Regions from separate parts of the Homo sapiens genome. Here region 1 is linked to region 2. The links are contacts of gene promoters, found by promoter capture Hi-C in blood cells and fetal thymus (Javierre and others, 2016). All regions are on one chromosome and are shown on one strand. Each heading gives the region's core, a stretch centred on a gene start or on the middle of the fragment in contact. The rest is flanking DNA. Distances are from core to core; before and after follow the strand shown. Region 1 overlaps SMURF1 (SMAD specific E3 ubiquitin protein ligase 1). Region 2 holds the start of KPNA7 (karyopherin subunit alpha 7).

Region 1 (6,719 bases), core at 3,415-5,914, 150 kb before region 2:
TGTCTGTAAACTGACTAAAAGAGAAAAGAACGACTTGTGTTAAAACCCAGCGGGGTTTACATAATTATAATACAGTGAGTCATTGCTAATTTAGAATTTATGTACAATATCATAAAAAACGAGGCATATGTGTATGCATACACACATATATTCCTATGCTTTCCAATACGAAGCATTTTACTCCAGTAGCTGCATGCTACTTGGAATATTCCTTGTAAATGTGGTGAAGAAAAGGGTGCTATGTTTCTCCTGGTCTCCATAAAAATAACAATGTAATATTCAGTCCCTCTAAGTTATTTTCAAGAAGATTTATTTTTTAAGAAGACTTTTTTTGGGCCAGGCACGGTGGCTCATGCCTGTAATCCCAGCACTTTGGGAGGCCAAGAAGGGAGGATCGCCTGAGCTCAGGAGTTTGAGACCAGCCTGGGCAACATGGCAAAACCCCATCTCTACTAAAAATACAAAAATGAGCCAGGCATGGTGGCACACACTTGTAGTCCCAGCTACTTGGGAGGCTGAGGCAGGAGAATTGCTTGAACCCAGGAGGCGGAGGTTACAGTGAGCTAAGATCGCGCCACTGAACTGCAGCAGGGGTGACAGAGTGAGACTCTGTCTCCAAAAAAAATTAAAAATTAAAAAAAATAATAAAAATAAGAAGTTTTTTTGGGGGGGATTAAGTCTCACTGTGTTGCCCAGGCTGGCCTCAAACTCCTGGGCTTGAGCAATCCTCCCACCTCAGCCTCAGAGTAGCTAGACTACAGGCATGTGCCACTGAGCCCAGTTTTTATTTCTTAAGAACATTCTGACTTAAGTTTAATAAAGACACAGAGAGGCCGGGCACAGTGGCTCACACCTGTAATACCAGCACTCTGGGAGGCTAAGGCGGGCGGATCACCTGAGGCTGGGAGTTCCAGACCAGTCTGGCCAACATGGCAAAACCCCGTCTCCACTACAAATACAAAAAATTACCCAGGCGTGGTGGCAAGCAGCTGTAACTCCAGCTACTCAGGAGGCTGAGGCAGGAGAATCGCTTAAACGCGGGAGGCGGAGGTTGCAGTGAGCTAAGATCATGCCACTGCACTCCAGCCTGGGCGACAGAGCAAGACTCCGTGTCAAAAAAAAAATGAATAAAGACACAGAGAGTACTTTCAGTATCTGCAAAGTCTAAGTGAATCTAAATATTTATTCTCTATCTTTACTATGAACAAGACTTTTATAAAGTTGTTTTCAGTTACTCATTTTTCTCCCTGGCACATCCCGCCACAAAGAAAAAAGAAATTACACGCAGGAAAGCATTCGGTGAGAACTTTTTCATGATGGTAGATTTCAGGGTGTATGTCTGCACTATTCATTTATCTTGGGTCAGGTCTACACAGGACAATACCTAAAAGATTTGGAGTGAGAATCACTCCAGTGTGCTGCAGAGAGACCTTTTTTTTTTTATTCCATGCAGCAGTGCTTCCAAGTCAATATCTGAGTTACCCTAAAACACTAATACAAGTGGGTGGATAATAGGATGAGTTATTTAACAGCTAAATCACTTCCAACAGACTGCCTCTAGCCAACACTTTGTAACATTAGCACACTTTAATTTTTCATTCTAAATAATGCAGTCCCCTGACTGTACAAATCATATTACATGGAATTCTTCACAACTCTATGCTTTTTACATATATGATGGGGCTTCCAGAAGAAACTATTTCCCAACTCCTGTATGTGTGGCCACCATTCTTATTATCTACCCTTGGATAATACGGTCAAAAATGTATTGTCCATAAATGTGATGATTAAAATTACATTTAAAATTCTAACCCTAAATCTTTCTGTACCCGAGTCATTTTTACTCAACTTTAAAAGCCAAGAGAAGGGGGCCGGGCATGGTGGCTCACGCCTGTAAGCCCAGCACTTTGGGAGGCCAAGGCGGGCAGATCACTCGAGGTCAGGAAATCGAGACCAGCCTGGCCAACATGGTGAAACTCCGCCTCTACTAAAAATACAAAAATTAGCCAGGCGTGGTGGCACACACCTGTGGTCCCAAGTACTCGGGAGGCTGAGGCAGGAGAATCGCTGGAACCTGGGAGGCGGAGGTTGAGGTGAGCTGAGATCTCACCACTGCACTCCATCTCAAAAAAAAAAAAACCAAAAAAAAAAAAAAGCCAGGAGAAGGGAATTAGATAAAATAATAAAAACTACACAAGACAAAACTTCCTAGTACTGAAGAGAAGGCCCCGTACGTGGTCTGTCCTCTGAGGCCCGTCAGCATCGTCAGTGCCTGTATGTGAGTTCTCGGCGATGAAGGGTTGAATGTAAGTTCTGGAAAAGCATCTCTTTACACAGACAAGAAAGTTCTTACCCACTATCTGGCCACGAACTGCATCAGTATCTGAGGGGTTTAGTTTGCATAGATCCAAACGCTGGTCTGTAAACAAACAATTCAAAACTTAACCCAAGGAACGTGAACTAGGGAGGAAGGCAGGAATTCAGTATTCAGCGATCAAAACAAAAAACGATGCCTCCTAAGCTTTCTTTGGTTGCATTAAGAGGCAGGAAAGTGTTTGGTTCTTACATCCGGTATCTTTTAATCTGCTGATGGCATTGGAGAGCAGCCGCACACAGCCCAGGAAGCCAGCTCCCTGTTTCTTGTGAATTTTCTTATGGTTCCACACGCTAATGGTTATCGAATCCGTTTTCCCAACATATCTGGAAAGAAAGTGCAAAACTCATTTTTAATTGTGTTTGGTTTTTTTTGTTTTGTTTTTTTTTTTTTTTGAGATAGAATCCTGCTCTGTTGCCCCCAGGCTGGAGTGCAGTTGTGTGATCTCAGCTCACTGCAACTCCCAAGTTCAAGTGATTCTCCTGCCTCAGCCTCCCGAGTAGCTGGGACTACAGGCGTGCATCACCATGCCTGGCTAATTTTTGTATTTTTAGTAGAGATGGGGTTTCGCCATGTGGCCAGGTTGGTCTTGAACTCCTAACCTCAGGTGATCCACCTGCCTTGGCCTCCCAAAGTGCTGGGATTACAGGCATGAGCTACTATGCCCAGCTTTTAATTGTATTTCTGAATTATGATATCTCATTGAGATTTTCTCTTTAAGAAACCTTATAAAATAATGTTGCCTCTGTATTACACATGTAACAGGCATTTAATAAATACGTATCCATTAATTTCAACAAGCTGGGAAGAAGAACTACCTTGCTCCTTATGGAAGGGGCAAATGTAGATAACCACACGATGATAATAATCTTATAACAGACTTACTATATTTTATTTATTTTTATTTATTTTTTTATTTTTTTGAGACGGAATTTTGCTCTTGTCGCCCAGGCCGGAGTGCAATGGCGCAGTGTTAGCTCACTGCAACCTGTCTCCTGGGTTCAAGGAATTCTCCTGCCTCAGCCTCCCCAGCAGCTGAGATTACAGGCACCTGCCACCACACCTGGCTAATTTTTGTATTTTTAGTAGAGACGGGGTTTCACCATGTTGGCCAGGCTGGTCTCAACCTCCTGACCTCAGGTGATCTTCCTGCCTCGGCCTCCCAAAGTGCTTAGATTACAGGTGTGAGCCACTGCACCCAGCAAATTTACTATATTTTAATAGTCGCATAGGACAGTAACATGATTCATAAATTCTCACCAATTAGGTTTGATACAGAATACTGGTTTGCGACAAGGGACTACTTACAAACCTACGGATCTATTCAAAGTACACAAGAGGACACTAAGACATTAAACCTCCATTTACTGTCACTGCAAGTCAACGGAGAGAGGAACTCAACCCACTTACACAGCCTCAGTGTCACTGAAACTGAATCTTAGAATATAATTCTTAAAAATCCCACCCAAATACAGTATAATTTGTATTAACTAAAAGACAATAATCTTTCAGGATTACTTTGATGAAAATATCTTAGTAGGAACATGAAAACATGGGTGCATATAAAATAGTGGTCTTCACAGCCAGGTGCAGTGGCTCACGCCTATAATCCCAGCACTTCAGGAGGCCAAGGTGGATCACCTGAGGTCAGAAGGTCAAGACCAGCCTGGCCAACATGGTGAAACCCATCTCTACTAAAAATATAAAAATTAGCCAGGCATGGTGGCGGGTACCTGTAATCCCAGCTACTCGGGAGGCTGAAGATCGAGAATCGCTTGAACCCAGCAGGAGGAGGTTGCGGTGAGCCAAGATTGCGCCACTGCGCTCCAGCCTGGGCAACAGAGCGAGACTCTGTTTGAAAAAAAAATTTAATTTAATTTAAAAATAAAATAGGCCGGGCGCGGTGGCTCACGCCTGTAATCCCAGCACTTTGGGAGGCCGAGGCGGGCGGATCACGAGGTCAGGAGATCGAGACCATCCCGGCTAAAACGGTGAAACCCCGTCTCTACTAAAACTACAAAAAATAGCCGGGCGTAGTGGCGGGCGCCTGTAGTCCTAGCTACTTGGGAGGCTGAGGCAGGAGAATGGCGTGAACCCGGGAGGCGGAGCTTGCAGTGAGCCGAGATCCCGCCACTGCACTCCAGCCTGGGCGACAGAGCAAGACTCCATCTCAAAAAAAAATAAAATAAAATAAAATAAAATAAAATAAAATAAAATAAAATAAAATAAAATAAAATAAAATAGTGGTCTTCAAAGTACAATCCAGTTTTTGAATGACTATAAGAAATTGATGGCTTTGATCATATAAAACTATATTTTCTCTTGCAGAAAATATATATGTACTAAAAAGCAAAAATTTTCAAAGTCAACAGAAACATACAGTCATAATAATGAATTTTTTAGGCCTGGTACAGTGGCTCACGCCTGTAATCCCAGAACTTTGGGAGGCTGAGGCGGGTGGATCATGAGGTCAGGAGTTCGAGACCAGCCTGGCCAAGATGGTGAAACCCCGTCTCAACTAAAAATACAAAAATTAGTTGGGCATGCTGGCGGATGCCTGTAATTCCAGCTACTTGGGAGGCTGAGGCAGGAGAATCACTTGAATCCAGGAGGTGGAGGTCACAGTGAGCCGAGATCGCGCCACTGCACACTCTAGCCTGGGCGACAAAGCAAGACTCCATCTCAAAAAAAAAAAAAATGCATTTTTTAGGTAGAAACTACAACTAGGTTTAGGGTTTTGCTGAAAAACAGTAGCATGTGGAGTTCACAAACTATGGCCTTTTTTTCTGCTAAAATGGCCAGGAGATTGAAAAGTTTGAGGATCACATGTACAAAACCAAACCATAAAAATCTATGAACATGCCAAATGCAGTCGGGCGCAGTGGCTCACGCCTGTAATCCCAACACTTTGGGAGGCTAAGGTGGGCAGATCACTTGAGGTCAGGAGTTCAAGACCAGCCTGGCCAACATGGTGAAACCCCATCTCTACTAAAAAATACAAAAATTAGCTGGGCATGGTGGCATATGTCCATAATCCCAGCTACTTGGGAGGCTGAGGTAGGAGAATCACTTGTACCCGGGAGGCGGAGGTTGCAGTGAGCTGAGATCACGCCACCGCACTCCAGCCTGGGTGACAGAGTGAGACTCCGTCTCAAAAAAAAAAAAAAAAAAAGAAAAAAGAAAGTAACAAAATGCAAGAACTTCCAAGTACATGAATTCTAAAATTAGGCAATGTAGACATTCATTTGGCCATCCGCTTTTGTTATCAATAAAAAGTCATCCTTTTTTTTTTTTTCTCTTGGATGTTTCTCGTAAAAGGTAGACACCTGCTTTCCTGCCGCTCCGCATGGGGCTTACAGAACATTCAACTCACAGATCATAGTGCTGGTTCCACTTTGGGTCCAATGTGTTTTTCACAGTGTCGGTTGAGTGGCACTGCCCAGACCCATCCACGACAATCTTTGCAAAAGGGTCAGGGAGCCCTAGAGGAGAGAGGAGACCCACACCTAGATGAGACCTCACATCCATCCATGTGACACAGAACACACAATTCGTGTTCTCTAATTTCAGGATAATTTCAATCAGCAAAATAAGTTATGTCTATTGAGCTTTCTAAGAGAGCCTAGTATGCCTCCATACTCAGATTTTTAGAGGGTAGAAAAGAAAGTGACTGAAAAAAAAAAAGGCTTACATTCAAATTTCTATTAAAGTGGGGCTAATTAAGTGGAGGGAAAAGTGTCTGAAAGTAATTGTATTTAGACTTTCTAAAAATTAATAATGCCCCGAAATTTGTTTACTGATCTTTGCCTATCTTATCTATGGAAGCAAGTATTCACCAGGCCTTAATTCGGTAAGTCCCTAAATGCTAGAGAATGAATCAGAGAGGTTTATTAGATCAGACAGGTGGCAAAGTGGACAGTTGTCAGAGATAGAGATGGACACGAGCCACCATGCTGGAGCTTCCTGGCTACCTGGAGAAAGCCTTTGAGCCTAAGTTTCTTCATCTTGAAAGCATGAATAATACCACTTAAGAACTGAAAGATGTCTTGTGAGGATCAGAAAGTGTGTGAAGAATTTAATGCTGCAGGCACTGACCAGATACTGCATGACTTTCTTAAGGAGTGATTCCTTCCTTTAGAAAAGGAGTCTCTTATTTTTGCAATTCCTTTAATTATAGGGTGTTGTAAATGTGATTTAATTTATAAAATCTGATTAACAATTGTATGCAAATCCAGCTGTTTTATACAAAAGTATTTCATTTGTATTAGAGCTGAGAATACATCATCCAGCAGAAAGCAATATTCTAATAGGTAGAGAGGCAGAAAAAATTGGGTGTGACCAGAAT
Region 2 (6,450 bases), core at 334-2,833:
AATCACAGTTCACTGCAGCCTTGAACTCCTGGGCTCAAGCAATCCTCCTGCCTCAGCCACCAGAGTATCTGAGACTACAGGCACACACCACCACACCTGGCCGATTTTTTGTTTTTGTAGAGTTGGAGGTCTTGGTATGTTACCCAGGCTGGTCTAGAACTCCTATCTTCAAGCGATCCTCCCACCTTGGCCTCCCCCAAAGTACTGGGAACACAGGCATGAGCTACCATGCCCAGCTAAGCAGCCCTGTTTTATGGATGAAGAAACTGGGGTTCTGAAATTAAATAATTGCAAGATTCCACGGAAACTTTGATTTGATTCCACAGTTGTCTGGCTCCTAAGTCCACATGCTTTTGTCTTCTCCACCTTTAATATTTTATGATGAAAATAGCAAACATACAGAAAAGTTGGAAGGATAATTCAGGGAAACACCTAGTCATCTATCTAAAGAATCTTTTGCTATATTTGCCTTTTCAACCCATCTCTCCACCACCTCCCTGCCCCCCGCTATTTTTTTTTTGAGATGGAGTTTCTCTCTTGTCGCCCAGGCTGGAGTGCAGTGGCCTGATCTCAGCTCACTGCAACCTCTGCCTCCCAGGTTCAAGCAATTCTCCTGCCTCAGCCTCCCAAGTAGCTGGGATTACAAGTACAAGCCACCACACCCAGGTCATTTTTGTATTTTTAGTAGAGACGGGGTTACACCATGTTGGCCAGGATCGTCTTAACCTCCTGACCTTGTGATCTGCCCGTCTCAGCCTCTCAAAGTGTTGGGATTACAGGCATGAGCCACCGCGCCTGGTCTCTTCACCCCGCTTTTTATGCAGATTGCACTGGTCCCCAATAGAAGCAGGTGGGTGCTTCATACTCACAGACACATCTTTGCCTCGGTACTTAAATTTTCTCCGCCTCTCTTCTGGAGCATCTAAGGTCGGCATATTGACTGGAAGTAGTAAGTTACCTGCAGGTTGGACAGCAACAAAGAAATTTTCAGTGCCCATTGTGTGGGTTATTATGTCAGTATCATAAGGCTCTAACCCTTAAAGGGCTCACAGTGGAGCAAAGGGCAGACCCAGGAAGCTAGCTTTTTTTTTTTTTTTTTTTTTTTTTTTTTTTTTTTTTTTTGAGACAGAGTCTCGCTCTGTTGCCCAGACTTGAGTGCAGTGGGGGGATATCAGTTCACTGCAACCTCCGCCTCCCGGGTTCAAGTGGTTCTCCTGCCTCAGCCTCCCAGGTAGCTGGGACTATAGGCGCCTGCCACCACGCCCGGCTAATTTTTGTCTTTTTAGTAGAGACGGGGTTTCACCACGTTGGCCAGGCTGGTCTTGAACTCCTGACCTTGTGATCCGCCCACCTCGGCCTCCCAAAGTGCTGGGATTACAGGCATGAGCCACCGCTCCCAGCCAGCATTTTTTATTTTTTGGGACCAGAGAAGCTGAGTGAGAGTTAGAACCCATATACACAGCACAGACTCCCCGTCCCCAACCCTTGGGCTCAACCTGGCAGCAAGAACAACAGTCTGGACTTCTCAGCTCCATGTCCTATTTCTGCAAGACCTGCTTGTTGGCATCAGAGTCTCACTCTGTCACCCGGGCTGGAGTGCATTGGCACAATCACGGCTCACTGCAACCTTGACCTCCTGGACTCAAGTGATTCACCCACCTCAGCCTCTTGAGTAGCTGGGACTACAGGCATGAGCCACCACACATGACTCACTTTTTATTTATTTTATTTATTTATTTTTTGAGACAGAGTCTCACTCTGTCACCCAGGCTGGAGTGCGGTGGCGCAATCTTGGCTCACTGCAAGCTCCGCCTCCCGGGTTCACGCCATTCTCCTACCTCAGCCTCCCGAGTAGCTGGGACTACAGGCACCTGCCACCACGCTCAGCAAATTTTTTTGTATTTTTAGTAGAGACGGGGTTTCACCGTGTTAGCCAGGATGGTCTCTATCTCCTGACCTCGTGATCCACCCACCTCGGCCTCCCAAAGTGCTGGGATTACAGGCGTGAGCCACCGTGCCCGGCCACACCTGGCTTATTTTTGGTTTTGTTTGTTTTTGTAGAGTCGGCTTTTCACCACGTTGGCCAGGCTGGTCTTGAACTCCTGACCTTGTGATCCACCCACCTCAGCCTCCCAAAGTGCTGGGATTACAGGCATGAACCTGAAGTCAGCTTCTATAAGCATCACCACACCAGCTCAGTAGGCTGTGAACACTGTGGGAGCACCAAGACCACCAATGCTGGGCATAGCAGTAAAGGAAAGCTTTTAAAAGTGCTTTGGCTTCAACTGGGTCCTCAAATGAGGCAGATGGGCTGGTTGTCATATATAGAAGCCTTTCATGCCAGGTGCAGTGGCTCACACCTATAATCCCAGCACTTTGGAAGGCTGAGGCAGATGGATCACTTGAGGCCAGGAGTTCGAGATCAGCCTGGGCAACATGGGGAAACCCCATCTCTACTAGAAATACAAAAATTAGTCAGGCATGGTGGCGGACACCTATAATTCCAGCTATTTGGGAGGCTGAAGCAGGAGGATCACTTGAATCCGGGAGGCGGAGGTTGCAGTGAGCTGAGATTGCGCCACTGTACTCGAGCCTGGGCAACAGAGTAAGATTCCGTCTCAAAAAGAAAAAGAAAAGAAGGCTTTCACACGGTGTGTCTGAGGAGTTATAAATCAGGCATATGTACAGGGTGGTGAGGAGACCCGCCAAGGCTGCAACAGGAAAACCCCACACCCAATGCACCAGCACATGGGGTCAGGACAGTCTCAAGCACAAGTCACTGAGAATCCTTCAGTAGACTGCCTCCACCCCAGTCCAGACCACTATCACCTCTTACCCACACTACTGCAGTTGCCTTCCAGCTGGTCTCCCTGCTTCTCCCATTGCCTTATTCCAATCTGTTCTTTGCACAGAGTACATGTGATTGTGGATCACCTGAGGTCAGGAGTTCGAGACCAGCCAGACCAACATGGCGAAACCCTGTCTCTACTAAAAGTACAAAATTAGCCAGGCGTAGTGGCAGGCACCTGTAGTCCCAGCTACTCAGGAGGCTGAGACAGGAGAATCGCTTGAACCCAGGGGGCGGAGGTTGCCGTGAGCCAAGATCGCACCACTACACTCCAGCCTGGGCAACAGAGCGAGACTCCAACTCAAAAAAAAAAAAAAAAAAAAAAAAAAAAGAAAAAAATCTGATTAGTCAGGCACAGTGGCTCATGCCTGTAATCTCAACAACTTGAGAGGTTAAGGTGGAGACTTGCTTAAGGCCAGGTGTTCAAGACCAGCTTGGGCAACAAAGCAAGACCCCCGTCTCTACAAAAAATATAAAAATAAGCTGGGCATGGTGGCACATACCTGTAGTCCCAGCTACTTGAGGCTGAGGTGGGAGGATTTCTGGAGCCCAGGAAGTCAAGGCTGCAGTGAGCCACGATTGCACCACTGCACTCCAGCCTGGACAGCAGAGCCAGACCCTGTCTCCAAAACAAACAAACAAAAAAAAGAAAAAATCAAGGAGAATCTGATCTAACTCTCCTGCTTAAAAAAACTCTCCTGGCTACCCAATGAGTTTAGAAGAAAATTCACTTTCTGCACTGGCCCCAGCCCACTTCACCTCCAACAACTCTTTCCTTGATCATTGTGTTCTAGACCCCTGGGCTTCATTATCAAGTGTTCCAGGTTCATTGTACTCGGGCCTTTGAAGTAGCTGCTCTGCCCAGGATCTCTGCACACTTGGCTCCTCTTCATTCAGTCTCTGCTTAAACATCTCTGAAAGCCCTTTTAACTGTCTTCCCAGTCTTATTTTCTTCTCAGCTTTAACCACTGCCTGATATTTTCTTGTTTGTCCAACTTCCTCTCCTCCTACTCCCCATGGTAACAGTACTGTGTCTTAGGCAGGGATTTCTTACCTCTTTCACAACACATGACAAAGTAGGTACTCAAATATTTGTCAAGGGAGGGTACTGTGTGATACGAGACAGGGAGTTGGCCCTCAGTTAGAGGTGGTTATTCAAATCAGGCCAAGTTTGAACTTTTTTTAAATTGGAGGGAGTTTGCTTTTGTGTTTTTGTTTTGCTTTTGAGACAGTCTTGCTCCGTTGCCCAGGCTGGAGTGCAATAAATAGTGTAATCATGGCTTACTGCAGCCTCAACCTCTTGAGCTCAAGTGATCCTCCTGCCTCAGCCTCCTGAGCAGCTAGGACTACAGGCACAAGTCACCAAGGCTGGCTAATTTGTATTTTTTGTAGAGATGGGATCTCACTATGTTGCCCAGGCTGGTTTCAAACCCCTGGGCTAAAGCAATCCTCCCCCTCAGCCTCCCAAAGCATTGGGATTAGAGGCATGAGCCACTGCACCTGGCCCCAACTTTGAATGTTCACAAGGCAGCAGGGAATATTTCTTACAGGTATGTAATATTCATCTGTTTCTGACCATACGAGATGGTCCAGACTACATTATAGAAAAGAGAAAATTGGATAAAGAAAGTCAACTGACTCTTGTCTTCAGTGAATAGCAGCCAAGAATAGTTTTGGTAGAAAAGACTAATTCAGACATATCAATTTGAAAGGGGCAGTGCAGACAACTTGGAGATTTGCATCAGAGAATTTAGAGCTGGCTGGGCACAGTGGCTCATGCCTATAATCCCATCACTTTGGGAGGCCAAGACGGGTGGATCACCTGAGGTCAGGAGTTCGAGACCAACCTGGCCAACATGGCAAAACCCTGTCTCTACTAAAAATACAAAGATTAGCCAGGTGTGGTGGCACATGTGCCTGTAATCCCAACTACTTGAGAGGCCGAGGCAGGAGAATCGCTTGAATCTGGGAGGCAGAGGTTGCAGTGAGCCTAGATCAAGCCACTACACTCCAGCCTGGGCAACAGAGTGAGACTCTGTCTCAAAAAAAGTAATTTAGGGCCAAGACTGATGTTGTAAGAAGAGAGACAAGCTCTATGCAAGATCAGAACAAGGATCGAGTCTTGAGGATGCTCACATTAGGGCCTGAGAGAATGAAGAATTAGCAAAGAACCAGGACAAAGGAGGGAGTTGGAGATAGAACAACAGAGTTAGTATCAGAGGCACTGCTGGCAACAGTAGTCACTGCGCCAGGGACAAGTCCCTAAAATCAAGCTCCAGCCACCCACAGCAAGACAGGAGCTACAGGAGAGCATGTCAGCTGAGCCTCAGAGCAGAGGAAACCAACAGCCCACACCATCCCTCTGGGTTTCAGATCCTGGTGGCTCTGCCTGCTTTAAAGCATTAGTTTCCTCCACAGCCTGGGAAAGAATAGCCTATATACCTTGTCTGCAAATCTGATCCTGGGAAATGCAAATTAGTTCCTGGAATTGACCAATCTCTCCCACTCTCCGATCTCAAAGCCAGAGAGGTGGAGGGTGACACCTGGTTTAAACATTCACGAAGCTCTCAATCATTGTGAGTCATGTTGACCTCCTCCCCAACCAATGTGGACAAAGGGACCTCAGTGAATCCAGAGTCCTTTGGTTGCTGCCCAGGGAGCCCTCACACAAGTTGGCTTAAGACTATCTCAGGCTTTAGATTTCTTCAATACAACTTCAAGCTCGAGGTAGCTTTACTCCTAGCAACACATCAGAACTCAGTATACCTGGGAAGGGAAGAGAACAACATTGCAAGACAGCCTCAGCACTGGGAGATCAGGCTAGGAAACACTGGTGTCCGATCCACATGTGTCCTTTTTTTTTTTTTTTTTTTTTTTTTTTTGAGACAGAGTTTCATTCTTGTAGCCCAGGCTGGAGTGCAGTGGTGCGATCTCAGCTCACTGCAACCTCCACCTCTCGGTTCAAGCAATTCTCCTGCCTCAGCCTCCCACGTAGCTGGGATTACAGGCACCTGCCACCACGCCCAGCTAATTTTTGTATTTTTTTTCTTTTTTTGGTAGAGATGGGGTTTCATCATATTGCTGAGCTGGTCTCAAACTCCTGACCTCAGGTGGCCCACCCGCCTCGGTCCCCCAAAGTGCTGGGATTACAGGAGTGAGCCACCATGCATGGCTTACTTTTAAGTAATCTCAAATTCTGCCCCATAAGGAAGCGTTGCTTTTTAAGACTAAATTGGCCAGGCACAGTGGCTCACACCTATAGTCTCAACGCTTTGGGAGGCCAAGGCAGAAGCTTGAGGCAGGAGTTTGAGACCAGCCTCAGCAAAATGGTGAGACCCTATCTCTACCAAAAAAGATTAAAAAAATTAAAAATTAATCCGGCATCGTGATGGGCACCTATAGTCCCAGATACTCGGTGGGAGGATCGCCTGAGCCCCAGAAATCAAGGCTGCAGTGAGCCATGATTGTGCCACTGCACTCCAGCATGGGTGACAGAGACCCTGTCTCAAAAAGAAAAGAAAAAAAGAAAAGAAAAAATCATTGCTATTGATCACAGTATCCTTTTAACATCTTGAAAACTAGATTCCTAGTCACCAGAATAA

The links. The method cuts DNA at HindIII sites, captures the fragments that hold promoters and counts their contacts. A CHiCAGO score of 5 or more calls a contact.
Region 1: a fragment that was not itself captured here is called in contact with the fragment with the promoter of KPNA7 in region 2 in 1 of 17 cell types (naive CD4 T cells); the score reaches 5.4 in naive CD4 T cells.

What each region holds. Positions count from the first base shown.
Region 1 is chr7:99,054,852-99,061,570 of GRCh38, forward strand. SMURF1 (SMAD specific E3 ubiquitin protein ligase 1) reads right to left here. Exons shown (of 18, transcript NM_181349.3): 3 at 5,748-5,856; 4 at 2,567-2,700; 5 at 2,354-2,419; 6 at 1-14. Among named protein-coding and RNA genes, the nearest start is that of SMURF1, 86 kb to the right of the region's middle. RefSeq lists a silencer at 735-1,029. The HindIII fragment of the contact is 4,291 bases long and covers 2,520-6,719 here.
Region 2 is chr7:99,206,532-99,212,981 of GRCh38, forward strand. KPNA7 (karyopherin subunit alpha 7) reads right to left here and starts at 1,584. Exons shown (of 11, transcript NM_001145715.3): 1 at 1,497-1,584; 2 at 870-958. The coding sequence starts at 935. The HindIII fragment of the contact is 12,895 bases long and covers 1-2,259 here.